Linked DNA regions of Homo sapiens: regions 2, 3, 4, 5, 6 and 7 are each linked to region 1. Evidence: promoter capture Hi-C in 16 types of primary human blood cells and fetal thymus (Javierre and others, 2016). All regions are on one chromosome and are shown on one strand. The core of a region is centred on a gene start or on the middle of the fragment in contact, and the rest is flanking DNA. Distances in the headings are between cores, read along the strand shown. Region 1 holds the start of MARCHF3 (membrane associated ring-CH-type finger 3). Region 2 overlaps LMNB1-DT (LMNB1 divergent transcript). Region 3 has its middle 68 kb from the start of SPMIP10. Region 4 overlaps MEGF10 (multiple EGF like domains 10). Region 5 overlaps MEGF10 (multiple EGF like domains 10). Region 6 overlaps LMNB1-DT (LMNB1 divergent transcript). Region 7 has its middle 58 kb from the start of LMNB1-DT.

The links. The method cuts DNA at HindIII sites, captures the fragments that hold promoters and counts their contacts. A CHiCAGO score of 5 or more calls a contact.
Region 2: a contact is called between a fragment that was not itself captured here and the fragment with the promoter of MARCHF3 in region 1, in 1 of 17 cell types (neutrophils). The highest score is 7.1, in neutrophils.
Region 3: a contact is called between a fragment that was not itself captured here and the fragment with the promoter of MARCHF3 in region 1, in 2 of 17 cell types (neutrophils and monocytes). The highest score is 13.8, in neutrophils.
Region 4: a fragment that was not itself captured here is called in contact with the fragment with the promoter of MARCHF3 in region 1 in 12 of 17 cell types (naive B cells, M0 macrophages, M1 macrophages and 9 more); the score reaches 14.0 in naive B cells.
Region 5: a contact is called between a fragment that was not itself captured here and the fragment with the promoter of MARCHF3 in region 1, in 1 of 17 cell types (M1 macrophages). The highest score is 5.5, in M1 macrophages.
Region 6: a fragment that was not itself captured here is called in contact with the fragment with the promoter of MARCHF3 in region 1 in 4 of 17 cell types (neutrophils, total B cells, naive B cells and 1 more); the score reaches 10.0 in neutrophils.
Region 7: a contact is called between a fragment that was not itself captured here and the fragment with the promoter of MARCHF3 in region 1, in 1 of 17 cell types (neutrophils). The highest score is 7.8, in neutrophils.

The regions. Positions count from the first base shown.
Region 1 is chr5:127,029,208-127,033,493 of GRCh38, reverse strand. MARCHF3 (membrane associated ring-CH-type finger 3) reads left to right here and starts at 2,936. Exons shown (of 5, transcript NM_178450.5): 1 at 2,936-3,144. It overlaps LOC105379163 (a long non-coding RNA gene), which reads right to left and starts at 2,151. Exons shown (of 2, transcript XR_007058920.1): 1 at 1-2,151. RefSeq lists an enhancer at 2,054-2,598 and a silencer at 2,595-2,974. The HindIII fragment of the contact is 7,560 bases long and covers 1-4,286 here.
Region 2 is chr5:126,748,993-126,752,670 of GRCh38, reverse strand. It overlaps LMNB1-DT (LMNB1 divergent transcript), which reads left to right. Exons shown (of 4, transcript NR_134485.1): 4 at 250-708. Among named protein-coding and RNA genes, the nearest start is that of LMNB1-DT, 26 kb to the left of the region's middle. RefSeq lists an enhancer at 2,458-3,383. The HindIII fragment of the contact is 8,892 bases long and covers 1-3,678 here.
Region 3 is chr5:126,697,586-126,701,458 of GRCh38, reverse strand. No RefSeq gene overlaps it. Among named protein-coding and RNA genes, the nearest start is that of SPMIP10, 68 kb to the right of the region's middle. The HindIII fragment of the contact is 7,151 bases long and covers 1-3,873 here.
Region 4 is chr5:127,314,201-127,318,227 of GRCh38, reverse strand. The region is part of intron 1 of MEGF10 (multiple EGF like domains 10); the gene reads right to left. Among named protein-coding and RNA genes, the nearest start is that of MEGF10, 25 kb to the right of the region's middle. The HindIII fragment of the contact is 776 bases long and covers 1,082-1,857 here.
Region 5 is chr5:127,330,896-127,335,071 of GRCh38, reverse strand. It overlaps MEGF10 (multiple EGF like domains 10), which reads right to left. Exons shown (of 25, transcript NM_001256545.2): 2 at 3,648-3,781. The coding sequence starts at 3,763. Among named protein-coding and RNA genes, the nearest start is that of MEGF10, 42 kb to the right of the region's middle. The HindIII fragment of the contact is 4,677 bases long and covers 1-4,176 here.
Region 6 is chr5:126,765,548-126,769,792 of GRCh38, reverse strand. The region is part of intron 1 of LMNB1-DT (LMNB1 divergent transcript); the gene reads left to right. Among named protein-coding and RNA genes, the nearest start is that of LMNB1-DT, 8.8 kb to the left of the region's middle. The HindIII fragment of the contact is 6,998 bases long and covers 1-4,245 here.
Region 7 is chr5:126,715,943-126,720,138 of GRCh38, reverse strand. No RefSeq gene overlaps it. Among named protein-coding and RNA genes, the nearest start is that of LMNB1-DT, 58 kb to the left of the region's middle. The HindIII fragment of the contact is 434 bases long and covers 1,563-1,996 here.

The sequences.
Region 1 (4,286 bases), core at 1,687-4,186:
TCCCTTGTAGAATATGGGGATGGCCCAAACTCAAGAGATTGTTAGGGGCTCTTGTTGAAAATCAATTACAACAAAAGATGGTATGGAAATATGAATATAGTCCGAATATGCTGTCTTTTCCATGTCTTCTGGTCTACAAGGGAAAATGAGACCTATTACTTGTCCAAGAACCCATGGATGATCTTGTCTGTCTGAAACAAACAGAAAACCTTGGAAATCAGGACATGAAAGTCACCTAATTCTAACTTGTTTCATGACAGGACATTTCCTTTATTTCCATTTTTCATCACTTAATGTAAATACTAAAGTAAGTACAGTCATGACCTAGTGTTTGGCTCCTATTCCCGAAATGATTTTAAAAATAATAATCAGCATCTATGAAAACCTTCACAGGGTACTAATATGATAAGCACTGTTGGCAAATGTTTTCTCTAGTTATATCCTGAAGTGTGGTAGGAAAAAAAATCCAAGGAAGTATATTTCTTCCATGAGCATTTCCTGATAATTCTAGTCAAAGATGACGTTTCATGGCAGCCTCCGTGAAAGCAAACAGAAGAGCACAATTTTAAAAACACATCAAAGTGGAGTTCTGCTGGAATCAGGTTGGGAGTCAAGTCTTCTCTCTCTTTGGCCTTCTCTCCTGTAAGGCACCTCCAGCCATGTCCTTGCCCAATCCAGACCTGGGCAGAAACCTGGTGAATATTCCATTCATGTGGTCTACATCTAATACTTTATGGGCAAAGGCCATTCTCCTAGGCCAGTCAGCAGCATGCTAAGGAACCTCTGGAATTGAGTCAGATGGTCTTCCTTGCCTGTAGCAGTCCTTTGGTCCACAAGATAGAAAATAAAGAACTTAAGGCTGGGCGCAGTGGCTCACGCCTCTAATCCCAGCACTTTGGGAGGCCGAGGCGGGCGGATCACAAGGTCAGGAGATCGAGACCATCCTGATTAACACGGTGAAACCCCGTCTCTACTGAAAATACGAAAAATTAGCCGGGCGTAGTGGCGGGCGCCTGTAGTCCCAGCTACTTGGGAGGCTGAGGCAGGAGAATGGCGTGAACCCAGGAGGCGGAGCTTGCAGTGAGCCAAGCCATAGCACTCCAGCCTGGGCGACAGAGTGAGACTCTGCCTCAAAAAAAAAAGAAAAGAAAAGAAAGAACTTAAATATGGACAATGTTTGCATTACTGAGCAATTTTTCAGGGTCTGCAAAGGGCTATCCCTGCCCTAGTCTCCTGCCCTTCTGACAACCTTCCTATGGACCTTTTCCCATTGAGAAATGGAGCTGAGGAGACAGAATTGAAACTCAAACCAGGCCAGAGCTCACCTAAGAGGGGCCATTTCACTCCTTTTCAGCCACCAGCCCTTTACATTCCTTCTCCCTGGTGACCTCATCAGAACCTTCTCATGAGAGGTCAGCTATGATGCAAGACCTTATAGAGGCCAGATGGCATTGAAATAACACCTTGCAGCTCCCTTACATGTGAATAATTGCCCATACTGAGAGACTAAAACCCTTAGGACTTCTGGGACCTGAATGAGGCAATGGTCTGAAGTGGGCTTGCGCTGGAAGCAAGACGTAAGTGGTGAAGGTGAGTATCAGGGCAGCAGGTTGACCCCTTTCTTGTTATGAGCATGCATTCCTTCATTCTTACTAATACGGGTTAGGTGCCTACCCATGGCAAGAGCAGTTCTAGGCAGGGAGAGGCCCCTACCCACCCACAGCTGACGGTCTAGGGCTTGTTTACATTCTAGGTTTCAGCGGGAAAGCAAGAACACCCAACTCCCTGCTTTTGATTCTATGTTAGTAGCTCAGCGCGCCTGTGCGAGCACGTGCTGCAGCCAGGGTAGGGGCTCAGAAACTGGTTGACAAGATGAGCAGTGGGGTCCTAGGGGGTTGGGCGGGAAGGGCCCACAAGGCCATATTCCAGGCTGTTCGGCTGCGAGTGACCCCTGAGAGGTCGGGATCTCCGAGCTCGTCCGATGTCTCCATCCCAGCCAGGAGCTTGCGAAGGGGAAGGAGGGCGGAAGCAGAGTGGGACAGATGTGGTTCGTTCTGGGGCTTCCTGTCCACGAAGATGGATAATTCTAGCGACCCGCCTGGGATTTTGGAATCCTGGCGGACCCAAAAGACAGCAGAAGTCACCGCAGAGGATGCCACCCCGCACGGCAGCCCGCCCAGAGCGACGGTCTCACAGGTTCCGGCGCCGTCGAGCGCCCAAGCCTCCTGTTGGCCGCCAGCTGTGTCCGCGACGCGCTGGGTCGGGAGGAGGAGACCCGAGGCGCCGGTAAGTCCCCCGCTGCAGGTGGCCCGGAGGGCAGGGGTGAGGACGGGGACGTGTACTGAACTTTGGGAGGTTTGCGGGGCTGGAGTTTTGTTTCAGAGATAGCCAGATCGAGATCAGAACGTTTTCCAGAGAGCCCAGGTTTCCACTTGTGGCTGGGCGACCCGGTCCGGAATTCATCCTTTCTCGGCCCTCAGCTTCCTCCGGGCGGGGTTCCGATGGGGCAGCTAAGTTCCGCGCCTCCTGCCGGTGCCAGATACTGGCGTGTCGACCCGCGCTGCGGTTGGCTTCTTGCTCCACAGCGCTATGCGCGCGGCGGCTCCGAGGGCTCCTGGTCTCTCTCAGCCAACGGCCTTCTGGGGCCGCCGCCTCCCTCTAGAGCTGCTCGGGTCCCATTGCAGAGAGTCCCGCAGCGCCCGCCGGCAGCCACGGCACTTCGCAATAACCAACTTCCCCGCCGCCGGCGCGTCCCGCCAGCCTGCCCTCGGCCGCAGGCGACTGGACGGCGGTTACGGGGCGGTCCCAGCGCCACCACGACTGGCTGTCGGCTCCGCCAGTCATGGGCTGATGACGCCCCGGGGCTGGCTCCGCCCCTAGCGGCAGCCCCGCCTCCCCTCCAGAGCCTGGTCGGCTTAGCCCTGCTTTCCGCCTCACTCGTTGAGCAGGTCCGTGAATTGTCAGCGCGCTGTGGGCGACTGTGTGGCCGCGGCGGCCGCCAGGCTTGCCGCACTCCCCCTGAGGTGCCCGCCGGAACCAATGTGCCCTGGTCCACTGGGCCGTGAGCAGCCACCGACTGGGGGCAACTTGGCACTTAGAACCGCAGCAGGGACGTCGGTTTGCTATCGGGACTCGGCGAGGACGGTGAGTGGCCGCGCGCCGGGCTAGCGGCTCCTCTCGGCGCGGTTCGGCGGCGGCGAGAGGGGACGGGACGCGTCCTGGCGCTCGGCGGTCCGTTCGTCCGAGCGTGACCGCTGTGGGGAGGTCAGGGCTGGGCGGGATTTACTCCGTGCCAATATCCCCACTCCCGAACTTCTTCTTGTCAAAGCATCCCAACTCCGCCCGGGACGCGGTTCCAGTCCGCACCAACTTGGCGTAATTGACATGGGTAGGTGGGGCCGGGACGCGTCCCCTGCCCCTCTGCGGCAACGACATGGAGCGCTGGGGCGGCCTCCGCGCCCGCGGCGTGCGGACCGCGGTTCCTGAAAAATTACCCGCGCTGTGCGGTACGGTAAGACCCGGCGTCCGCGTCTGGATCTCAAGGCTGAGCGAGCGCTCATCGGGCTCAAGGTGGGTCTCAGCGCCAGAGAACTGGAGTACCAGCCGGGTTCTGTAGCGGGGGCTTCAGTGCTCTGCAGCTACTGAGAGGAATTGAGAGCACTGCTGGGCTTTGAACTTTCTAAAGTAATTGCTTTCTATTAGCACTTGAATCCATGACCCTCCTGAGGTGCTCGGACCTCCACATCCACCCGCAAGGGGTGTCCGAAGGACTTCGTTAGGACCAGGCGGGAGCTGCTGTCGGTTCTGGTGCCCAGTGCCTTGGAGAATCCTAGAGGCTGCGAAAGGGATTGCCAGCCTGGTCGGTTGGTGTTTGTTTGAGCACCTGCGTGTTTAAGTGATGAAGTTGAGTCAGGAATTGACAGCAGAGAACTCAAGGTTAAACCTGACACTCCGTTTGTGACTCGGTCTGGGTTAGATTGTTTTCCCCCCTTAATGGTAAGGGGGTAAAAGCAGCTTGTTTTTCTGAGACCAACTACATGCATGTAGTTTATATTATGTGCGGAATAAACAGAATTCAATACGATATTTTCTTACAATTCTTATTTGACATGAATAAGAGCTTTTGAAAATACTAGACAGAAACAGGTCCAGAATTTGGGGATGTTTAGACCTTTGAAAATACATGAAAATGTTGAGATATATAGTTCTGTATGTGTATATGAAGATGTAGATGCGCATATACACACATACATACGTGTATATGTGTGAGTGTGTGTATATATAAA
Region 2 (3,678 bases), core at 540-3,039, 280 kb after region 1:
CTCATCATTTTTTATGGCTGCATAGTATTCCATGGTGTATATGTGCCACATTTTCTTAAAGCTGATGTGTTTTAAATTATTTGAAGGTAAGTTAACACAATGTTTTAGAAAATCACTTAAGGACTCTGGGGGAAATATGAGGTCTGTTAACTTAAATGTTTTTTTTTTTTGTCCTGGGTAGTTTTTGTGGGGTTTTTTTGTTTTTTGTTTTTTTGTTTTTAAGTAAAAATACGTTATACTTCCTTTCAGAATTCCATCATCACTTGGGAGATTTCTGCGAATCATCACTAAAGCCATTCACTTTCTCATAACTAAACAAGAATCTTCTTCTGGAGTTAAGTATCAGATATGAATGTTCTCACTGACCTCAGGAAGCAAAAGTCCTAAATCATTATATGGCAGTGAAGGTACAAAAAAAAAAAAAAATCAGCAGGAAATAAAGCGGAACTGCTGCCAACACATACAAGCTGCAGTAGCACCCACAAAATGTGTAGTATCTATTCTAACACATTCATTGGACTGATTACATTGGCTCATAGACTTGGTTAACTCTGGAAGAACATAATAGGTGTTTATTGTTTACTATGGGGATGGGAAACATAATTAAGTCTATAGTCTCCAATTCTTCTCAAGTTCAAATGAAACCAACACTTTTGGTTTTGTCTTAACATTCAGGATGTGTTTCTAATTAAACTGAAATCACAGTAAGCACCTCCACTTTCTTTCTTGGGATCTCTATCATGAAAATTAATTGTGTGATTTTCCCCTCCCACCCAACCCCGCTTCTTCTGGAAAAAGCTATATTTACACTTGCTATACCTGAAAATCCCCATTTGGGGCAGAGTAGGCATTATGGCATTTGTCTGATCTCTGGTGTGCCCAAAAAGAAATCGCCTGAAACTGGGGGCATATTAAGAATGCAAATGGTGATTTGGGTTAGAGTTCCAACCTGTAGCTAACTAGAACATCCTTTCATTGACTTCTACTCTCTCAATTAGTGTTTTGTTTTTTTTTTTGGTTTTTTTTTTTTGAGACGGAGTCTTGCTCTGCCGGCAGGCTGGAGTGATGCAGCACGATCTTGGCTCACTGCAACCTCCGACTTCCTGGTTCAAGTGATTCTCCTGCCTCAGCCTCCCAAGTAGCTGGGATTACAGGCACGTGCCACCACGCCCAGATAATTTTTGTATTTTTAGCAGAGACAGGGTTTCACTATGTTGGCCAGGATTGTCTTGAACTCCTGACCTCGTGATCCGCCTGCCTTGAGCCTCTCAAAGTGCTGGGATTATAGGTGTGAGCCACTGCGCCCGGCCTTTTTTTTTTTTTTTTTTTTTTTTGAGATGGAGTCTCGCTCTGTTGCCCAGGCTGGAGTGCAGTGGCTTGATCTCGGCTCACTGCAACCTCCAACTCCCGAGTTCAAGCAATTATCTTGCCTCAACCTCTCCAGTAGCTGGGATTACATGTGCCTGCCACAGGGTTTCACCATGTTGGACCAGGTTGGTCTCGAACTCCTGGCCTCAGATTATCTGCCCGCCTCGGTCTCCCAAAGTGCTGGGATTACAAGCATGAGTCACTGGGCCTGGCCTAGTGTTCTTTATCACTCAAATAATTGTTAGACGATCTTAAGAGAACTCCTAGTCCTACGTTTTTGTGAGGATGTCTTATAAGACCACACATTTCCTGGTCTAAATGCAAATTTCAAACATCTCTTAGAGGTTTTTTCGTTAAGTTCAGTGAGTGAGTCTTATTGTTACCTACAGGTAGTTGGATAGGCAGGAGCCAGACAGGAGAGGGCTCTCCCCCACCCACTAAGCCTATCAGCAATTACGGCATTGCCTCTCCGAGTGCGATAATTCGGCAGCGCCAGGGAAAAGGCATTTCCTGAGGGTCCACACCTGTTAATATGAAATGTTAATTGAATGCAAGCCTCAGGGAGAAGAAACTTCCTGGGCATGCATATTAAGAGGCAAAAATGGCGAATTATGATCTTCCAGGTAAACTCCACCGGCAAAAGGAAGAAAGCCTCAGATAGGCATGCTTATGACTCCCTAAACACACTGCGCTGTGCTCAATTCCAAAGGGTAAGGAGGGCACTGTGCAGGCGGGCAGCCCACCCTAAGGGAAGAATCATGGGAAAGAGGTGAGCTTATACAAGTCCTAGTATCACCGGGCGCGGTGGTTCATGCCTGTAATCACACCGCTGCACTCCAGCCTGGTGACAGAGGGAGACTCCGTCTCAAAAAAAAAGTCCTAGTATCACAGTTAAATGGGGCACTTGACTCTCCCTTTTTGTTCTTTGGGTCTCTTCCAAGTGTGCTTTCCTTCTTTCCTATTCTAAAGCCGTTTTAAACAAACTTCTATTCCTGCTCCGAAACTTGTCTCGCTCCTTATGCCCTTCAGTAGAATTCTTTCTTCTGAGAAGGCAAGAACCAAAGTTGCTGCGTACCTATACAGATGTAAGGCTGGATAGGTGGCTGGTAACTCAGGGTGGCTCTGATCTCTTCCGCTGGTAACATTATTGTCAGCGGAAACTGACAATTCCCGCCACACTGAGTGAGTCCTCCAGCACCAGAACCCTGACCAATTCACCTTTGCATCCCTAGTGCCTAGCATCATTCCTGCTATTAGGAAGTTCAATAAATATTTATCAAATAAGCATATCATTTATCTTCCCTACTAGACTTTTCTTCTCAGAGAGATTAAGAGCCACGTGGACTTAAACTTTAGATTGGACACAGGTCTGACAAATTAGATGCACAGGGAAAGGACTTAAAACATTTATTTAGGGCCGGGCGCGGTGGCTCACGCCTTTAATCCCAGCACTTTGGGAGGCCGAGGCAGGTGGATCACGAGGTCAGGAGATCGAGACTATCCTGGCCAACACGGTGAAACCCCGTCTCCACTAAAAAAAAAAATACAAAAAATTAGCCGGGCATGGTGGCGGGCGCCTGTAGTCCCAGCTACTTGGGAGGCTGAGGCAGGAGAATGGCGTGAACCCGGGAGGCGGAGCTTGCAGTGAGCCGAGATCGCCCCACTGCACTCCAGCCTGGGCGACAAGGCAAGACTCCATCTCAAAACAAAAAAAAATTTTTTTTATTTAACATATATTTGTCAAATTAAATAAAAAGTAGTATGTTAAGAAAAAACAAAGATATTTCAAATACAGAGTCTACAGTGAAGTTGTGGAGACTGAACAAGGAATATATTTTTTAAAACAACCAGGGTGGGCCTGGTGGCTTATGCCTGTAATTCCGACACTTTGGGTGGCTGAGGTGGGTGGATTGCTTGAGCTCAAGAATTTTGGCAATATAGAAAGACCGCGTATCTATAAAAAATCAAAATAAATTTTAAAAAAGAAAAAAGCCAGGCGCGGTGGCTCAGGCCTGTAATCCCAACACTTTGGGGGGCCAAAGCGGGCAGATCACGAGGTCAGGAGTTCGAGACCAGCCTGGCCAACATGGTGAAACCCCGTCTCTACTAAAGATACAAAAAATTAGCGGAGCGTGGTGGTGCGCACCTGTAATCCCAGGTACTCGGGAGACTGAGGCAGAATTGCTTGTACCCGATAGGCAGAGGTTGCAGTGAGCCAAGACTACACCATTGCACTCCAGCCTGGGCCACAGGGCGAGACTCCGTCTCAAAAAGGAAGAAAGAAAGAACGAATGTAAAGAAAGACTGAAA
Region 3 (3,873 bases), core at 965-3,464, 330 kb after region 1:
ATGTGGGAACTTAATATATCATAGAAGTGGTCTTACAAACTACTGGTCTATTTAGTATATGTGGTGGACAATGAGAGAAAAATATTCCAGAGGTTGAGATCATGGGCTTTAGAGCAAATCTACCAAAGATTGACAGCTGACTCTGCTGCTTAATAGCTGCATTACTTCAGGCAAGTTACTTAACATATTTGTGCCTCTGGTTTTTTTGTGTATGTGTATTATTGTTTTTCAGACAGGGTCTCTCTCTGTCACTCAGGCCAGAAGGCAGTGGCGCAATCTCAGCTCACTGTAACCTCCGCCTCCCGGGTTCAAGTGATTCTCATGCATCAGCCCCCCCGAGTAGGTGGGATTACAGGCATGTGCCACCATGTCTAGCTAATTTTTGTATTTTTCATAGAGACAGGGTCTTACCGTGTTGGCCAGGCTGGTCTCGAACTCCTGTCCTCAAGCAGTCGCCCACCTTGGGCTCCCAAAGTGCTGGGAGAACAGGCCTGAGCCACTGCACCTGGCCTGTTTCTCTATTTTTTTTTTTAACCTATAAGCAAGGATAATGTTATTATTTCCTCATGAAGTTGTGAGAATGTAATGGGTTAAAACAGGTAAATCATTTTAAACAGTGCACTCACGCAGTACACACAATAAATATTTACTATCTTTATTAGCTCTCTGTATCTCTATGTGAGATCCCTATCTCAAACCCTATATAAAATATATTTCAGGTAGTTACTAGAGCTAAATAAGCAGTTTATATGTTAAAATTTTTAGAAGAAAATTGGCTGGGCATGGTGGCTCATGCCTGTAATCCCAGCACTTTGGGAGGCCAAGGAGGGCGGATCTCTTGAGGTCTGGAGTTCGAGACCAGCCTAGCCAACATGGTGAAACCCCGTCTCTACTGAAAATACAAAAATTAGCCAGGCATGTTTGCACGCGCCTGTAGTCCCAGCTACCCTACTTGGGAGGCTGAGGCAGGAGGATCACTTGAACCTGGGAGGTGGAGGTTGCAGTGAGCTGAGATTGCACCATTGCACTCCAGTCTGAACAACAGAGCGAGACATCATCTGAAAGAAAGAAAGAAAGAAAGAAAGAAAGAAAGAAAGAAAGAAAGAAAGAAAGAGAGAGAGAGAGAGAGAGAGAGAGAGAGAAAGAAAGAAAGAAAGAAAGAAAGAAAGAAAGAAAGAAAGAAAGAAAGAAAAAGAAAGAGAAAGAAAAGGAAAGGAAAGAAAGAAAAGAAAGAAAGAAAAAATATAGAAGCAAATCTGGGGCTGTGCGGGGTGGATCATGCTTGTAATCCCAGCACTTTGGGAGGCAGAGGCAGGTGGATCACCTGAGTCCAGAGTTTGAGACTAGCCTGGCCAACATGGTGAAACCCCATCTCTACTAAAAATACAAAAATTAGCCAGGCATGGTGGCCGGCACCTGTAAATCCCAGCTACTCAGGAGGCTGAGGCAGAAGAATCACTTGAACCCAGGAGGCGAAGGTTGCAGTGAGCCGAGATTTTGCCATTGCACTCCAGTCTGAACCACAAGAGTGAAACTCCATCTAAAACAAAACAAAACAAAACAAAACAAAACAGCATATCTTTATGACATGTAGGCAGGAAAGGATCTTAAAACCTTAAAGAAGGCACAAAATACAAAGAAAGATAATGAAAAAGTTGAGTTAGTTTTAAAATTCAGCTCAATAGAAAGAATCAAATATAAACTTAAAAGACAAACCACGGACTTGAAGAAAGTGTTGCAATACACCTTTTTTTTTTTTTTTTTTTTTTTTTTTTGAGTTTCGCTCTTGTTGCCCAGGCTGGAGTGCAAAGGTGAGATCTCGGCTTACCACAACCTCTGCCTCCTGGGTTCAAGTAATTCTCCTGCCTCAGCCTCCCAAGTAGCTGGGATTATAGGCATGTGCCACTACACCAAGCTAATTTTGTATTTTTAATAGAGATAGGGTTTCTCCATGTTGGTCAGGCTGGTCTCGAACTCCCGACCCCAGGTGACCTGCCCTCCTTGGCCTCCCAAAGTGCTGGGATTACAGCCGTGAGCCACCATGCCTGGCCAATACATCTTATAGATAAAGGATTAATATCCGGAATATTTATATTGATAAACAGTGATAAAAAAAAGGCAAAAGATGAACAAATAATGAGAACAAGGAATTGTCAGGAGGCAAAACTTGAATGGCCAGTGCAGATATGAAAAATGCTCACCCTCATTAGCGTTTGGGGAAGTGTATTTTAAATCCACAAGAATTCTACAACTTACTGACAAACCACTGCTACAGAGTGCAAGTTTGTATGGTCTTTGCAAAAAAACTACTTATTTAAAACAACAACAAAACACACATATACACGTATACCATTCCACATCAATCAGATGGGCATGTGTTATATAACACTAAGCATTGGTGGAGATGTGGGACATGGAAATTCTAGACAAAACTTTGCAGAATGCAGGTGAGGCACGGTGGCTCACGCCTGTAATCCTAGCACTTTGGGAGGCCGAGGTGCAGATCATGAGGTCAGGAGTTTGAGACCAGTCTGGCCAACATAGTGAAATCCCATCTCTACTAAAAAAATACAAAAATTAGCTAGGTGTGGTGGCAAGGGCCTGTAATCCCAGCTACTCAGGAGGCTGAAGCACGAGAATTGCTTGAACCTGGGAGGCGGAAGCTGCAGTGAGCCAAGATCGTGCCACTGTAAAGCCTGGGTGACAGAGCAAGACTTGATCTGAAAACAAAACAAAACAAAACAAAACAAAACAAAACAGACTTTCCAGAATGCTTTCCCAGCCAAGCGTAGTAGCTCACACCTGTAATCCCAGCACTTTGGGAGGCTGAAGCAGGAGGATGGCTTGAGCCCAGGAGTTTGAGACCAGCCTGGGCAACATAGGGAGACTCTATCTCTACAAAAACAACCAAACAAAACAAACCTCAAAAACACCCAGAATGCTACCCCATCTATAAATGTCAATTTAAATAATGTCCCTAGTTTAATTTTAAGACTGCATACAGGGAAAATCTCAATTTCTCAAATGGTGCTTTAAAGCTACTAAGCCATTTTCATAATTTCCAACAAAGCCCAATGACCTATCTCATAAATCAGCTGATTTTTCCAAAAGAACCACAATATTATGCTCTCTAGTAGAAAGTGACCATTTTATCTTTCATCAGAGAACAGACAGAAACTTTAGAGTCACAATTCAAAGTTGTTTTCCTTATACCAAACAGACCAAAAAATAAAAGAGGTGTCTCGGTATTGCAGAAGAGCACATAATAATAATTAAAACATATTAATTGCTACATGAAATGAATAAAAGAAATTGCTTTTGGATGCCCATCCAAACAATACTTTATCCACAGAGCCCGGGTGGTTGCTATGATTTTAATGTATGTGTCCCTCCAAAATTCATATGTTAGAACCTAATACCCAATGTGATAGAATTATGAGGTGGCACCCTTTTGGGAAGTGATTAAGTCATGAGCTCTCCACCATCATGAATGGGATTAGTGCTGTGATAAAAGAGGTTTAAGGGAGCTCCCTAGTTCCTTCATTTTTTCTTTTTCTTTTTTTTTTTTTTTTTTTGAGATGGGGTCTCTGTCTGTTGCCCAAGCTGGAATGCACTGGCGTGATCTCAGCTCCATTCAACCTCCACCTCCCAGGTTGAGGTGATTCTCCTGCCTCAGCCTCCCGAGTAGCTGGGATTACAGGTGCCCAACACCACATCAAGCTAATTTTTGTATTTTTAGTAGAGATGGGGTTTCACCCTGTTGGCCAGGCTGGTCTTGAACTCCTGACCTCAGGTGATCCGCCTGCCTCGGCCTCCCAAAGTGCTGGGATTACAGGCATGAGCCACCATGCCCAGCCCCTAGATCCTTTTGCC
Region 4 (4,027 bases), core at 220-2,719, 290 kb before region 1:
CCAGAATCAAGGCGCTGGCAGATTCAGTGTCTGGGGAGGGGCTGCTTCCTGATTCATAGATGGTACCTTCTCCTTGTGTTCTCACATGGTGCAAGGCGCAAGGCAGCACTCTGAGGTCTCTTTTATAAGGGCACTAATCATATTTACTGATCCCATTACTGAGAGCAAAGTTTCAAAACCAATGTCAAGAAACACTAACTTTGACTAGTTTTTCAGTTTGATCAGTTCATCCTTTTTACCAATCAACTCAATTCCTCCTCCACACTGTCACCAATGCTTTAAAAACACAAGTCAGAACATCACACTCCCCCCTCACTTTTTTTTTATTACACTTTAAGTTCTAGGGGGTACATGTGCACAACATGCAAGTTTGTTACATATGTATACATGTACCATGTTGGTTTGCTGCACCCATTAACTCATCATTTATATTAGGTATTTCTCCTAATGCTATCCCTCCCCCATGACAGGGGACACATGACAGGCCCTGGTGTGTGATGCTCCCCACCCTGTGTCCAAGTGTTCTCATTGTTCAATTCCCACCTATGAGTGAGAACACGGGGTGTTTGGTTTTCTGTCCTTGTGATAGTTTGCTCAGAATGATGGTTTCCAGCTTCATCCATGTCCCTGCAAAGCACATGAACTCATCCTTTTTTATGGCTGCATAGTATTCCGTGGTGTGTACGTGCCACATTTTCTATGTAGAAAGCTGAAACTGGATCCCTTCCTTACACCTTATAAAAAAATTAATTCAAGATGGATTAAATGTTAGACCTAAAACCATAAAAACCCTAGAAGAAAACCTAGGCAATGCCATTCAGGACATAGGCATGGGCACAGACTTCATGACTAAAACACCAAAAGCAATGGCAACAAAAGCCAAAATTGACAAATGGGATCTAATTAAACTAAAGAGCTTCTGCACAGCAAAAGAAACTACCATCAGAGCGGACACGCAGAATGGGAGAAAATTTTTGCAATCTACCCATCTGACAAAGGGCTAATATCCAGAATCTACAAAGAACTTTAACAAATTTACAAGAAAAAAACAAACAACCCCACACTCCCCTTCTTAAAAGCTTTTGAGAGCTTGCCTTTTAGGTAAAATTCAAACTGGCATTTAAGACTCAAGATATCTGAGTCCAGCCTCATCACTCAACAAACTCATGTATATGTCGCTTGAACAATTCTCAGGTACTTGATTTTCCCCAAACATTAGAGGTTTTCACTCCTCTGTCTTCGCCCATGCTGTTCCTTCTTGGAATGCCCTTAACTATCTGCTCAACTTAATTCTCACTCATTCTTTAAGGATCAACTGTCACTTTCTTTTAGAAGAGCTCCCTGGCTAACCTTGTCATTCTTCTTCTTTGCTCCTGTAACACCCTGAAACATCCCAAGAGTAGCTGATGTGTTCTTCGTCAGAGTAGTAACACACACCACACCGCTCATCTCTCCACTAGCTACCAGACTCCTTAATGTCAGAATGGTACACTGTTCATCTCTACATGTTCTTGGTATTCTTGAATGAATGTATGGCCCACAGGAAAAATAAAGCTCAGAATATGCAAATCACTTGTTCTGGAACCCTGAAATCATTATTCTTAATATTTAAAAGGCAGAAATGGAAGGTCAAGATTATCATTTAATTGCTAATATACAACTGCAGTGGAAAATCCTAGAGTTGAAACAAAATGATTGCAATACCAGTGATTACAAATATGAAAAAACACTGAAAGTTTTGTTTGGGGGATATTTGTTTTAATTAGAGATAAAAAATATGTAGTCTCTGAAAAGAACGTATGGGCACTTTCAATGGCTTAATTAATAGTTAATCATTCTGTAAATTCATTTAAAGCTTAAGGCTTTCTACTCATTAGCCTTCCTGTATTGTCAATAATTGGACCTGCTCAAACATGGCTGCATTGGTGATGATTCTTGCAGGCATGGTATTCATATCAGCTGAGGGCAAGGTGAGGTGACTATGAGCAAACATTTGACAGCAGCAAGGGAGCATCCAGGAGGGGCTGGGAGTCAAGCAGCAGAAGCCAGCAGGAAGTAATAAAGCAAGATAAGGAGGCAGAGCAAAGGTGCAATGGCACCAAACTTATATGGCAGACTTTTGTTGCACTAAAGCGTCTTCTGAAGTGTTGCATCTCCATTGATAAAAAGCACAATTCCTGGGGCCTGCCTGTGGGCCTGGTACAGGGACCCATTTCAGCAAACTTCACCAGAAAGAACAATGTGTGGGAATATACCCTAGGATGAACCTTCAGTAATTAGCAGATTGCTACGGTCTACAGCAACTGAAAGACTGCTCTGCTTCAACATGTTCTTAGAGTGTTAGATTAGCACACTTTAGAAAATAAAAAGATTTTTATTACAAAGTGATTCAAAATATATGCTTGAAATATAGACAGAAAGAAAAAGGGTTATTTTGTTTTGGTTTGTTTTTTTAAGACAGGGTCTCACTCTGTCACCCAGGCTGGAGTGCAGTGACACAATCACAGCTCACTGCTGCCTCAACCTCCCAAACTGAATGGATCCTCTCACCTCAGCCTCCTGAGTAGCTGGGACTACACATGCATTCCAACACACCTGGCTAATTTTTGTATTTTTGTAGAGACGGGTCTCATCATATTGCCCATGCTGGTCTTGAACTCCTGGGCTCAAGCAATTCACCTCTATCAGCCTCCAAAAGTTCTGGGATTACAGCCATGGGCCACCACGCCCGGCAAGATTCATATATTTTTAAGTTTTAATTTTGAGAAGGAATTAAGATCTGTGATGGTCTTTGATGAAGGTCACATTGTGATTATAAATTTTAAAATATATTAATGGACCCCAAATGTACATAAGTGTTTGTATATTACCTAAATAAGGCAAGAATTTCCTTTATGCACAGGTGGGCATAAATGCACACCAAGTATAATGTTAAAAATAAATACATAAATAAACTGGAACATTAATATCAAGATAATTACAGTTTTTATGGGGAAAAAACCTTTAATTTTAAGCAGGTTCTGATAACTCTTTAAGGGCAATTTGAACTAAGGAAGCTAAAGGTTTTTGAACTAACACTGAGTTCTGAACTCAGCAGGGCCACAAGCTTTGCAATCTCTGACATTTTCCTTAATCTCTTCTGTTCTTGTCCTCATCAAATGTCATTTCCCTGTTGCCTTTATTATAAATTCTCTCCCTCAGCTCCTTTTTTTTAAGATTCAAAGTCTTTAATAGCAGTATCTTCATTTTACTGCAAATATTGGAAACAACAGCAGCCAAAAGCACTTAAAATTAAGTGCACCCCATCACAATGAATACATTCATTTCCTTCTTATAAATACAGTTTCCATAAACTATATTACTGTCATTTGTTCAAGATTTTAAACTTCCTAATCATTTAACTTAAACAGGAAAATAAAATCTAATGAATGTAAACCATACATGAAGAATATCTCAATTGAAGAATCTATGAAGGGTAGAAATAGTTCCTGCCTGGAATATATTTTTCATATCCCGCTAATTTGAAAGAGCCTATGATTCATTCCTAAAATTCCCTTAGTCCAACATGTAAGCCTCCCTAATTGTTTGAAATTCAAACCATTACATAAGCTTTCTGTCAACTTACTTCTCTCTTTGCAATAATTTATTTTCTCATCCAAGATCTACTTAACAGTGTGTTCAGGACATAAGTAAAAATTCTCTAGTCTTTTCACTAGAAACTGCATAGAAATCTCTAACGGAACCAACTCTCCACATCCTTCATCTGATATTTCTCCATTGCCTTGGGCTGCTGGTCATCTTTTGACATAACCAATCCCACCTCTTCAACTAGACTGTTGGGTCCTTGAAAGCAGAGCCCATGGTTTTGTCTTGTCTCCTATTCTACTCCTCCCTGACTTCTACTTCTCTCCCCATCTGCAAGAATATATAGATGATCAATATACGGTTGCTAAGTAAGAACAATACCAGGATCTATAAAGTCATGAAACATTAAAGTATATTGAGCACTTGAGGAGAGTCAAGAGAT
Region 5 (4,176 bases), core at 958-3,457, 300 kb before region 1:
ATATCATTGCCGTGATTTTAATCTATTAAGTATTATCTGGGGAGAAACCCCAGCAAGATTTAATTTAAGGTCAAAGAACCAGGGAGTGGGGGAGGAGATGGAGAATAAGGGGAGGAAGACATTATCACTTGGGCACGTTCCAAAGTGGTTAATTACATTTTACCTGCCTAAATTATCTTGTTACTTTAATCAGATATGGTAATAATCTTCATTTCTTATCTCTGCTTGCTTCAGGACTGCTGATTCAATTACTCTCCCTTCTGTGTTAGTAATTGAAGGTTTGGTCAAAGTGTGGTTTCTCTTCACTTGTGCCTTCTTTAGAAGAAACCCCACTGAATGGAAAAGCTCAAATTCATAGAATACAGAAAGAAGGTTAGGAGAAGGAATAGATAATTTCTAGAGTTATTCATTTTCCAAAAAGACACTGTACAGAGTTCCTTTAATCATAAACACCCCTTGAGTATTTTAAATGATTTCATTTTCTTTAATTTCATTTTATGTACAATTTCTTAGAATCACAATCGCTGCATTAAAACAAGGCACATCTCTATTTCAAAATAAATATTCAGATATCAATTGGGATGCAGCTAGAAGCCATTGATGGAAGTATTTTTGTTTAGTGCTTCTCAAACTTGAATATGCAGACAAACCTCCCTGGGATCTTGTTAAAATGCAGATTTTGATTTAGTAGGTCTGGGGTGGGACCTGAGAGTCTGTATTTCTAACAAGTTCATGCCTCAGCTCTGCAAACCACAGTCTGAGAAGTAACCTCCAGGTGATTGCATGGTTCTGAGCCATTGGGTACAGGTGGTTTTGAGCATAAGAAGAGCTTAAAATGAGCCCTACTACCAGAATTATGCCCTTGGAGCTCATCTTCCTCTCCCCATTTCAGTTCAAGCCCATTTACATTTTTGAAAATACTAGACGAACCTGTCACCTGTGCCTTTATTTGATCATTTTAATTTATCTTCTATACTGGTCCCCATTCTTATCAAAACAATTCTACTTTCTTTTACCTTTCTTCTAGAAATCATTATCTAGCCTTACAACAGAAAATTTATCAGTAAGAAGATTATAGCTGTCAACTCTTCTTCCTGGCAGTACATTTAAAAAAACTGGAAGTTTTTTTCATCATTTTCCTATTTGTTCACATTCAATTTCCCTCCCCCTTCATGAGCATTTTAGAGTTTGCACTAATCACTTGCACAGTTGTTGGGTTCTATTAGGTTTAGAGATTAATGTGCCCCTTGTCTATCTGTCTTTCTCACTCTCCATGCCCCTCCCACATTGATGTACATATTTAGTCATTTCGTTTCCTATCAGAAGATGAACTCACTCATTCAACAATTTATTAAACACATGCCACATGCAAGGCAGTGTTTTAGACAGTGGGAATTATCAGTGGTGAGCCAGACAATGCACTTATGCATTGGCAGCTCTGGTCAACTGCTGACCAGGGAAGCAGGACAAAATGTGTATTTATAAGTGGGTGCCGGATTATTTGAAGCCTTGAAATGGTTTTCTCTCTCTCTCTTTTTTTATTTTTATTTTTATTTTTTTTGAGGCAGGGTCCGCTCTGTCACCCAGGCTGGAGTGCAGTGGCATGATCTCAGCTCACTACAGCCTCCACCTCCTGAGTTCAAGTGATTCTTGTGCCTCAGCCCCCCAAGTAGCTGGATTACAGGCATGCACCACCACACTTGGCTTTTTGTATTTTTAGTAAAGATGGGGCTTTGCCATGTTGGCCAGGCTGGTCTCAAAATCCTGGCCTCAAGTGATCTATCTGCCTTGGCCTCCCAATGTGCTGGGATTACAGGCTTGAGCCACCGCACCCAACCTTTTTTTCTCTTATAGTCTTTCCCTCAGAGAGTTCCTCTGTTCACATCTCACATCTCATCATGCTGGATATTCCCAAATCTATATTCCCAAATACTTCCAGGCCCATATTTTAAACTGATTTTATAAACACAACATGGCAAACCCACACTAACCCCTTCCCTTTCAAATCAAATCTCTTTCTTTTATTTTTCCATATGCGCAATGTCATCTGGATTACTTCACACAGCAAGTTCTAAATCCTCGTCTTCTCTGCCTCCTTCACTTCCTCAGTCAATGTATTATCAAGATCTGTTGATTCTTATTTCACAACATCTCACAAACTTGACTTTTCCTCCCATCCCAAATCTATCATCCCTCCAAGAAGTTCAACTACCAATGGTCTCTTCCTTTACTAAATTTGACCTGTACCCATTGATGTAGCCAATGATTCATGACTTTAATAAGTATTTATTATATATTTTATTGATGAAATGCCTTATGGGAGGTGCTGTAAATATTATAAAGAGCACTAATAGGAAGTCCTTCTGCTTAAATTCTGTATAATGTAGTTAATACCACAAATATATAGAACTTTATTATATACATATATTCTCTCTGCAGCTTAAAGTTTCATAATAATATATAACTCCATTGACTAATCAGGTAATTATGTTTTAATTACCCTGCTTGTAACACTACCAATGGAGGTAGGGATAAGCCCTTACCAAAAATAATACTGAGTGAGAAACCAGCATGTCCCCAGAATAATACCACTGCTGTGCTTGAGAGGCTCTGGGCTTTATGCATCCTAACAGTGGGGAACAAAGGTGATTAGAATGTGTGCTCTGTGGTTTGCTAATCATGGTGCTGAAGATCAAGAGTTTGATATAATTGTACTTACAGCTATTAAAAATACATATTACCCTCCAGTACTTAACATCTTCTCTTTGTTTAAAACACTTGCATTTACAGTTTTTGGATAAGATAATTTCTGGGAAATTCAAGTAGCACATTAGAGCAGAGCCAACTGGACTTGATTGTACTGCAATATCGCTGGATGGGTTTGCACTATTTTTGTGTTCCAAAAGGGACTATAAAGTCCCAGAGGATGATCTACTGTTTTGTACTTTCTACTGCAAATTGCTCATATCTAGACATTACATCATCTGCCTTCACATAACCACACCCTCCTCCAATACGGTACTAACTCTGCTCTGGTTGTGCACAGTTCTCGGTGGTCCACATGGCACTGATTTCAAACTGCCAAACTGACTCCCCTTCCAAGATCCCCTTCCAATCATTGCAACCCACTCATCTTATTCAGTTCTTCAAGAGCATCTCAGGGGACACTACCTCTATGCAGCCTTGCCAGTTTACACCAAATTTAGGTCTCCGTTTTCAAGCCATCTACAGCAAAATTCTTTTAAATCCCATATATTTCAATACTTTAGTATATTATCTCATGCTGCTTTCCACTTCTCACTCATGGGTTCCCATGCATAAGTCCAGCTCCCCAAAATTAATGCAAATTCAAATCAGAGACAAGACATTAGGAAGATCTTTTAATTGTGCTATTAATGTCTTCCCTGAATCTTACAATTGCACCTGCATTAGAATTAGATATATCAAGACTTTTTTCACATAATATATATGCTATAAGACCAAGGTGACTAACACCACCTAATTTGCTAGCTATGACTAATGATTTTTACATAAAAGTAATTTCACAATCTCTTCACAAATTCTAATTTTATACATCTGACTGATAATTACAGTATATAAGGGAACTTCTCAGCAATTCTTTGTCAGGCTCCTTTCAAAACCATTACCTTTCCCAGTGGCTACACACATTAGGGTCTTCAAGATTCAGAGGTGATGCTGTCCCAATCCAGTGGCATAACAATAAACAAATAAAGCTCAGGCATGAGTTCAAAGAAATAACCATTTTTTTCTGAAGAACAACCTACAAGAAAGAAAAAATCCCAATTAGAAATGCATTGAAATGACTCACACAGAATTCTTTTCAGTACAGCAACCACCAGGTACCAGTTGTCAGTGGGGCTGAAATGTGCATAACAAGCCATGTATTTCAATAGCCAGGTCACCAAATTCCATGGTCCAGGAGAGAGGGGTGTTTCTTATGTTGTGCAAGGTGGCTACTATTTTGTAAATTACTAAAATATGCAAATCATCATCAATTGCCACAAGAACAAAAGCCCTTCTCATTTATGCCAGCCAATATTAAAGAAATCTACCAGAACAATTCAGAGCAACACAAGCCTCCACATTCTCTCACCTGGCATATTTCCCTTCTAGAAGAGGAGGGCACACAGAGGTAGCTGGCCTCATTTGTTCTAG
Region 6 (4,245 bases), core at 844-3,343, 260 kb after region 1:
AGGAGGTGGTTTAAACTAGGAATTTGTAAAGTGGTAAGAGAAGTGTATTTTAGTCAATAATCTTAACTTAGGTCTGGCTTACACTAGTCAAGAAAAATGGAAAATTGAGAAAATTACCATATAATTTTTAAAAAGCATATAATTTACTTAAGCTGTCATAACAGTTATGCCTTGCCTAAAGGCCGGACGTGGTGGCTCTCACCTGTAATCCCAGCACTTTGGGAGGCCGAGGAGGGTGGATCACGAGGTCAGGAGATTGAGACCATCTTGGCCAACACGGTGAAACCCCATTTTTACTAAAATTACAAAAAACTAGCTGGGCGTGGTGGCGGGTGCCTGTAGTCCCAGCTACTCGGGAGGCTGAGGCAGGAGAATGGCGTGAACCTGGGAGGCAGAGCTTGCAGTGAGCCGAGATCGTGCCACTGCACTCCAGCCTGGGCAACAGAGTGAGACTCCGTCTCAAAAAAAAAAAAAAAAAAAACAACAGTTGTACCTTGCCTAAAGCAAAACAAAAACAGAAAAACCAATGAAGCAAGAAATGCTAGAGTACCTCCTATGTGCAAGACACTCCACTGGATGACTGAATTTTGTTTTGTTTTGTTTCAAATTTGAAAAGAAATGAGATCTTACCATGTTGCCCAGGGTGGTCTCTAACTCCTGGGCTCAGGCAATCCTCCACCTTGGCCTCCCAAAGTGCTGGGATAACAGACATGAGCCACCATGCCTGGCCTAGGAGTTTTTTGTTTTGTTTGTTTGTTTGTTTTTAAGTATAAGATATAGTTCCTTCCTTCAGTGAAGGCACTGTATTGTTTGTGTGTGTGTGTGTGTGTGTGTGTGGAAATAAAATGTTTACATGTGATTAAATAGGGTAAGCAATGATGCCATAAATTATGAAGGCCCAAAGAACTGACATTGATGACAAGTGTCAAATCACTGAAACTGCTAAATTTTTTTTTTTTTTTTAAGACAGAGTTTGGCTCTGTTGCCCAGGCTGGAGTGCAATGGTGCGATCTCCGCTCACTACAAGCTCCGCCTCCCGGGTTCACGCCATTCTCCTGCCTCAGCCTCCCGAGTAGCTGCGACTACAGGCGCCCGCCACCACACCTGGCTAATTTTTTGTGCTTTTTAGTAGAGACGGTGTTTCACCGTGTTAGCCAGGATGGTCTTGATCTCCTGACCTTGTGATCCGCCTGCCTCGGCCTCCCAAAGTGCTGGGATTACAGGCGTGAGCCACCGCGCCCGGCTGAAACTGCTAAAATTTAAAGAAGGAATCACTTCAGTTCAGGACAACATGATAGAACATCCTGCAAGAGGACCATTTGAACTGGACATGGAAGTAGGGGAAGATGCATTCAGTTAATGATTTGAATTACACAAATTAGCTTTATAAGTTTTTCAGGAATAAAACTATCACATAAAATGAGATGACTATCTTTTGTATGAAATATTGTATTTGTGTATGTTGAGAATTTATATTGGTAACTGGGCAAGAATTATCCAGGATTTGGTTGCCCACATACTTGGAATTTAATGCTACAAAATACATTCTGTTAAAGTCTCTGAAAAGAGATGACACTGAAAAGTAAATAGGGACCTCTCCAATTTACATACAGAGTACAGGAGCAACTGAAACTTTTATATACTATTGATGGGAGTGTAAAATAGTACAACCACTTCAGAAATTGTTTGACAGTTCTCCAGCCTGACCAACGTGGTGAAACCCCATCTCTACTAAAATTTAACAACAACAACAACAACAAATTAGCCAGGCATGGTGGCGGGTGCCTGTAATCTCAGCTACTGGGGTGGCTGAGGTAGGAGAATCTCTTTTTTTTTTTTTTTTTTTTTTTTTTTTTGAGACGGAGTCTTGCTCTGTCGCCTAGGCTGGAGTGCAGTGGCGCAATCTCTGCTCACTGCAAGCTCTGCTTCCGGGGTTGACGCCGTTCTCCTGCCTCAGCCTCCCAAGTAGCTGGGACGACAGGTGCCTGCCACCACACCCGGCTAATTTTTTTGTATTTTTAGTAGAGATGGGGTTTCACCGTGTTAGCCAGGATGGTCTCAATCTCCTGACCTCGTGATCCACCCACCTCGGCCTCCCAAAGTGCTCGGATTACAGGCGTGAGCCACCGCGCCCGGCAGGAATCTCTTGAACCCAGGAGGCAGAGGTTGCAGTGAGCCGAGATCATGGTACTGCACTCCAGCCTGGGCAATACAGCCAGACTCAAAAAAGAAAGAGAAAGAAAGAAAGACAGACAGAGAGAAGAGAGAGAAAGAGGGAGGGAAGAAGGAAGGAAGGAAGGAGAAAGAGAGAGAAAGAAAGTTGTTTAACAGTTCTTTATAAAGGTAAAAATGGGTCCTATAGTCCAGCAATTCCACTCCCAAGACAAATGAAAGCATATGTACACTAAAAGACTTGAACAAGAAGTTTATAGTAGCTTTACTCATAGTAGCTGAAGGGGTTCAGAACATGCCACCCCAGAATGTCGCTTTTGGCATATTGATTATTTTGAGCTGAAGCCAATTGGGAATTACAGCAGATGTAGAAAAGACTCTGCCAGGCACAGTGGCTCACGCCTGTAATCCCAGCACTTTGGGAGGCCAAGGGGGGGGGTGTGGATCACCTGAGGTCAGGAGTTCAAGACCAGCCTGGGCAACATGGTGAAACCCCATCTCTACTAAAAATACAAAAATTCGCTTGGCATGGTGGCAGGCACCTGTAATCCCAGCTACTCGGGAGGCTGAGGCAGGAGAACTGCTTGAACCTGGGAGATGGAGGTTGCAATGTGAGATCGCACCACTGCACTCCTGCCTGGGCAGTGGAGTGCGACTCCATCTCAAAGAAAAAGAAAAGAAAGGACATTTATATAAACTCTCAGTCCTAACCACTTCTTCGGTCTGTTTTTTCTTATGAAGCCTCTGGTACAATTAAAAATATTAAGTAAAATTTGTATACTTTTATCCTATTGAAATGTCTCAGGTTGGCCGGACGCGGTGGCTCACGCCTGTAATCCCAGTAATTTGGGAGGCTAAGGCGGGTGGATCACAAGGTCAGGAGTTCAAGACCAGCCTGGCCAACATGGTGAAACCCTGTCTCTACTAAAAATCCACAAATTAGCCGGGTGTGGTGATGGGCGCCTGTAATCCCAGCTACTGAGGAGGCTGAGGCAGAGAAGTGCTTGAACCCGGGAGGCAGAAGTTGCAGTGAGCCAAGATCACGCCACAAAGAAATGTATCAGGTCAGTTTAATTCTCAGGCCCAGCCATAGAAGCTAAGAGTAGGGGAAAGTTTGTACTCCCTACACAGCCAAAACTGAAAAAGATCCAAATGTTCATCAACAGGAGAATAGAAAAATGGATTGTGGTATAAGTACTATTTAGCAATTTTAAAAAAAGGAATGGCAGGTACACCAACCACATGGTTGAATCTCATAAACATTATATTGAGCCATAGAAGCCAGGTAATAAAAAGTACATCTTGTAAGATTTATTTATATAAGTTTAAGAACAAGTAAATCAAATTTATGGTGAAAGAAATCAGAACAGTGATTTCCTACAGGGTTGAGAATTGATTGGAAAGAGTCATTAAGAAACTTTCTGGGCCCAATGTGGTAGCTCACACCTGTAATCCCAGCATTTTGGGAGGCCGAGGTGGGAGGATGGCTTGAGCTCAGGAGTTCAAAATGAGCCTGGGCAATATGGTGAGACCCCCATCTCTATTAAAAAAAAAAAAAAAAGCCAGGAGTGGTGGCTCCCAGGACTTTGGGAGGCCAAGGTGGGTGGATCACCTGAGGTCAGGAGTTGGAGACCAGCCTGGCCAACATGGTGAAATGCCATCTCTACTAAAAATACAAAAATTAGCCGGGCTTGGTGGTGGGCACCTGTAGCCCCAGCTACTCGGGAGGCTGAGGCTGGAGAATCGCTTGAACCCAGGAGGTGGAGGTTGTAGTGAGCTGAGAACAGGCCATAGCACTCCAGCTTTGCCGACAAGAGCGAAACTCCGTCTAAAAAAAAAAAAAAAAAAAAAAAAAATCCTGGGCGCGGTGGCTCACGCCTATAATCTCAGCACTTTGGGAGGCTGAGGCAGGCTGATCACCTGAGGTCGGGAGTTTAAGACCAGCCTGACCAACATGGAGAAGCCCGGTCTCTGCAGAAGTACAAAATTAGCCAGGCATGGTGGAGCATGCCTGTAATCCCAGCTACTCGGGAGGCTGAGGCAGGAGAATAGCTTGAACCTGGGAGGCAGAGG
Region 7 (4,196 bases), core at 530-3,029, 310 kb after region 1:
GATTCACCCACCCTGGCCTCCCAAAGTTCTGGGATTACAGGCGTGAGCCACCATGCCCGGCTTAAAGTTTTAATAAATATGCTTTGTTCTGCAAATGTGGAAGAAGCATAAAAATTATAGGCATTTTTTATTTTCACTTAAAACTTAGATTCAATTTCCAAGTGTCTTTAATCTTTGAATTCTGAAGACTTAATGGATTCTTAAGAAAATATAGTATTGAGTTTAAAGACTAATTTTTGAAGACTGTCAGGAAAATTACTGTCTTTTTTTTTTTTGAGACGAAGTTTCACTCTTGTTGCCCAGGCTGGAGTGCAATGGCACGATCTCAGCTCACGCCAACCTCCGTCTCCTGGGTTTGAGCTATTCTCCTGCCTCAGCCTCCCAAGTAGCTGGGATCACAGGCATGCGCCACCACACCCAGCTAATTTTTGTAGTTTTAGTAGAGATGGGGTTTCGCCATGTTGACCAGGTTGGTCTCAAACTCCTGACCTCAGGTGATCTACCTGCCTCAGCCTCCCAAAGTGCTGGGATTACAGGCCTGAGCCACCATGCCTGGCCAGGAAATTACTTTTATTATCACAAAGACTAAGCCTTAAAATATAAAATTACAATTCACTTTTTAGTCTTTAAGAGTTCGAAAAAAGATTAACATTAAAGCAAGTGTTAGTGATGTTTAGAAAAATTTATAGAATGTTTCAAAGCACTAAGTTGTTGCCCTGTTGTCTAAGTTTGGCTTAGGTAAGCACTTGCAACCTCAGAAATCAATGCTATGTACAAAAAGCATTAGATCTAAGATGACAGTGCTTGGAATTAACAGTGCTTGGATGTTCTTACAAATAAGTGAGTTTCTGCAGTTTGGTTTTTTTTTAAAAACATATTTGGGTAATTAAAAAAATTTTACCATTAATTCAGCTGAAATTAGTTTGTTAGCCCAAAACAAATTACTTCATACTTCATCATTCTTTGGAACTGAAAATGTTCTAAATCACATTTGGACTCGAGCTGGTTGTAATCTTATCCAACATGTAATGCTAAAAAGGGAAGAATAAGAAATATTTTCAGCCAACTTTGGTGGTTATATACCTGAAATATTTCTTTGTTTTTTTTTTAGGTAATGAAATGAGTTTTTTAAAAAACTGAATAATAAGAATAAAAGTAATGGCATAAAGTAGTCACCTTGTAAAGACACTGTTTCACTCACCAGCGTGCAGATGGACAAGGCGGTATCTAGGACTGGCCCTTCCTATCCTCCTTACCTGGAGGCCAGGGTCCTGGGTGGAATTTCTGAACGTAGAATTTGCAGAGCTTGGCAGTGTTTTGTGAAATGTGAGCTGAGAAGTAAATGTGGCCCTCCTCCATCCTTTCCTGCCCTTATGTTCTGCTTTCTACTGATAGCCCAACCCAGTTGTGATTGCAATGGAAGGTGTCTTCCCCCATAGCCCTGCTCAGTGGGAGATGGCACCCAGCTTCTGTCTGGCCCAGTCTTGTTCTGGTGAGAGCTATCAGGCTAGGGAGGGCCAGGTGAGTACGAAGAGCTGCCGGGTAGGGAGGTGGAAAAAGCTTTGCTGGGAAAGGGGGTTGCCGTTTCTGATAGACAAGCAATGTGTGGTATGCTAACCGCTCTGTGAGTGGGATAGGGGAGAGTCGCCAGACAAGGACAATTAGCAAGGCACCTCAGCGGAGCAGTGAACCGCCCTCTCATACATGGAGACTGAACAGCCTCTGGGAGCTGACCTCCACTGACAGGAGGCTTCCTTGTTCCTGACCAACACCGATGCTCTTTCTCTGCTCATGTCTTCCTGTGTGGTCTCTCCTCTCTTTCTCTTCTTAGCGACAGTGGAATGTTAATTTGGTCTGGGAGAGCAGGAAATACTGTAAATGTGTATCTGAATATCCCTGTCTTCATCTAGACCAGTGCCTTTCTAATTCCAACATACCAGTAATGGAATCCTTCCCCTAAGCAAAGGATAACTCATCTCTAGCTTACTTTGAAGCTTTCTACAACTAATTAATTGACTTTAGAGAGAATGGCCGTGAATAACCTGTAATTAATAAAAAACCAGGCTGGGCCCGGTGGCTCACGCCTGTAATCCCAACACTTTGGGAGGCTGAGGCAGGCGCATCACCTGAGGTTGGGAGTTCGAGACCAGCCTGCCCATCATAGTGAAACCCTGTCTCTACTAAAAATACAAAATTAGCCAGGCATGGTGGTGGGCACCTGTAATCCCTGCGACTTGGGAGGCTGAGGCAGGAGAATCGCTTGAACCCAAAGAAGCCAAGGTTGCAGTGAGCCAAGATCACGCCACTGCACTCCAGCCTGGGCAACAGAGCTGTCTCAAAAACAAAACAAAACAAACAAAACCCAACAAACTAAAATTATTTACCATGAAAAGGAAATAAGCTGGGCACAGTGGCCCACGCCTGTAATCCCAGAACTTTGGGAGGCTGAGGCAGGCAGATCACGAGGTCAGGAGATCAAGACGATCCTGGCCAATATGGTGAAACCCCATCTCTACTAAAAGTACAAAAATTGGCCAGGTGCAGTGGCTCATGCCTGTAATCCCAGCACTTTGGGAGGATGAGGTGGGCGGATCACCTGAGGTGAGGAGTTCAAGACCAGTCTGACCAACATGGAGAAACCCCTTCTCTGCTCAAAATACAAAATTAGCCGGGCGTGTTGGCACATGCCTGTAATCCCAGCTACTCGGGAAGCTGAGGCAGGAGAATCGCTTGAACCCGGGAAGCGGAGGTTGTGGTGAGCCGAGATCGTGCCATTGCACTCCAGTCTGGGCAACAAGAGCGAAACTCTGTCTCAAAAATAAATAAATAAATAAGTAAATACATACATACATACATACAAATACAAATACAAATACAAAAATCAGCTGGACATGGTGGCGCGTGCCTGTAGTCCCAGCTACTCGACAGGTGAGGCAGGAGAATCGCTTGAACCCAGAAGGCAGAGGTTGCAGTGAGCAGAGATCGCACCATTGCACTCCAGCCTGCCGACAGAGTGAGACTCCGTCTCGAAAAAAAGAAAAAAGAAAGGGAGATAAAAACCAAACCAAAACCAAAACGAAAAACTAAAATTATTTATAAGGGTAGTTCCTTTAGGTTCTATACTTCAGTACGATGAAGGAATACCCATAAAAATGAAAGTAACACATTTATAATTAAGTATGTTACAAAATATCTGCAATACTTGGGGAAAATGTTAGTTAAGTGTGGTTAATGTTTATCTCTATCTGTTTTAATTCCTATTAGTGGAATGAAGTTGTTCGAGTGTCACCAATGGGCCCATGCTAGCAAATGTAATAATGGCTCCTTTCCTGTTTTCTTGGCAGTATTTAACTAGTTGGCTATACATTCTTTTTTTTTTCCTATAACCTCATATTAGAAGTGATCACTCTCATTTTGTTTCTTTTTTCCAAAAATTATATACACACACAGTGTAGAGTCAAAAAATTCCATAGTTTGTTATAAAGAAAAATCCCAGCTGCTCCTCACCATCCCAACCAGTCACCCCGCCTACATCCCACTTCAATTTCCCATTTCCCAGATCAATGCTTTTAACTACTTTTGCTCATTCTTTTGATACTTACCATGTCTCTAAATAATATGCTTATAATACCACTTCTTGAATTTCCCCTTTTGGGTGTTATCTAGTGATTTCACAGTATGGGAGATGAAGAATTAATATGGGCTCTTACACACACACACACACACACAGACACACACACACTGGCCTTGGTATACAAGTCTATTTTTCATTCCCTTTGTCTCAAAATAAAGTTACCTGTAAAAGTAATTACAAAAATATTCAGCAGCCAGCCGCAGTGGCTCACGCCTGTAATCCCAGCACTTTGGGAAGCCAAGGTAGGTGGACTGCTTGAGGTCACAAGTTTGAGACCAGCCTGGCCAACGTGGTAAAACCCCATATCTACCAAAAATGCAAAAATTAGCTGGGCTTGGTGGCGTGTGCCTGTAATCCCAATTACTTGGGAGGCTGAGGCAAGAGAATTGCTTGGACCTGGGAGGCAGAGGTTGCAGTGAGCCAAGATCGTGCCATTGCACTTCAGCCTGGGTTATAGAGCAAGACTCTGTCTCAAAGAAAAAGAAAAAAATTCGGCATTTCAATGTTATGACTATGTAAACATTATCCACTGCTAGGCCAAGTGGTATCCTGTGAATATTCT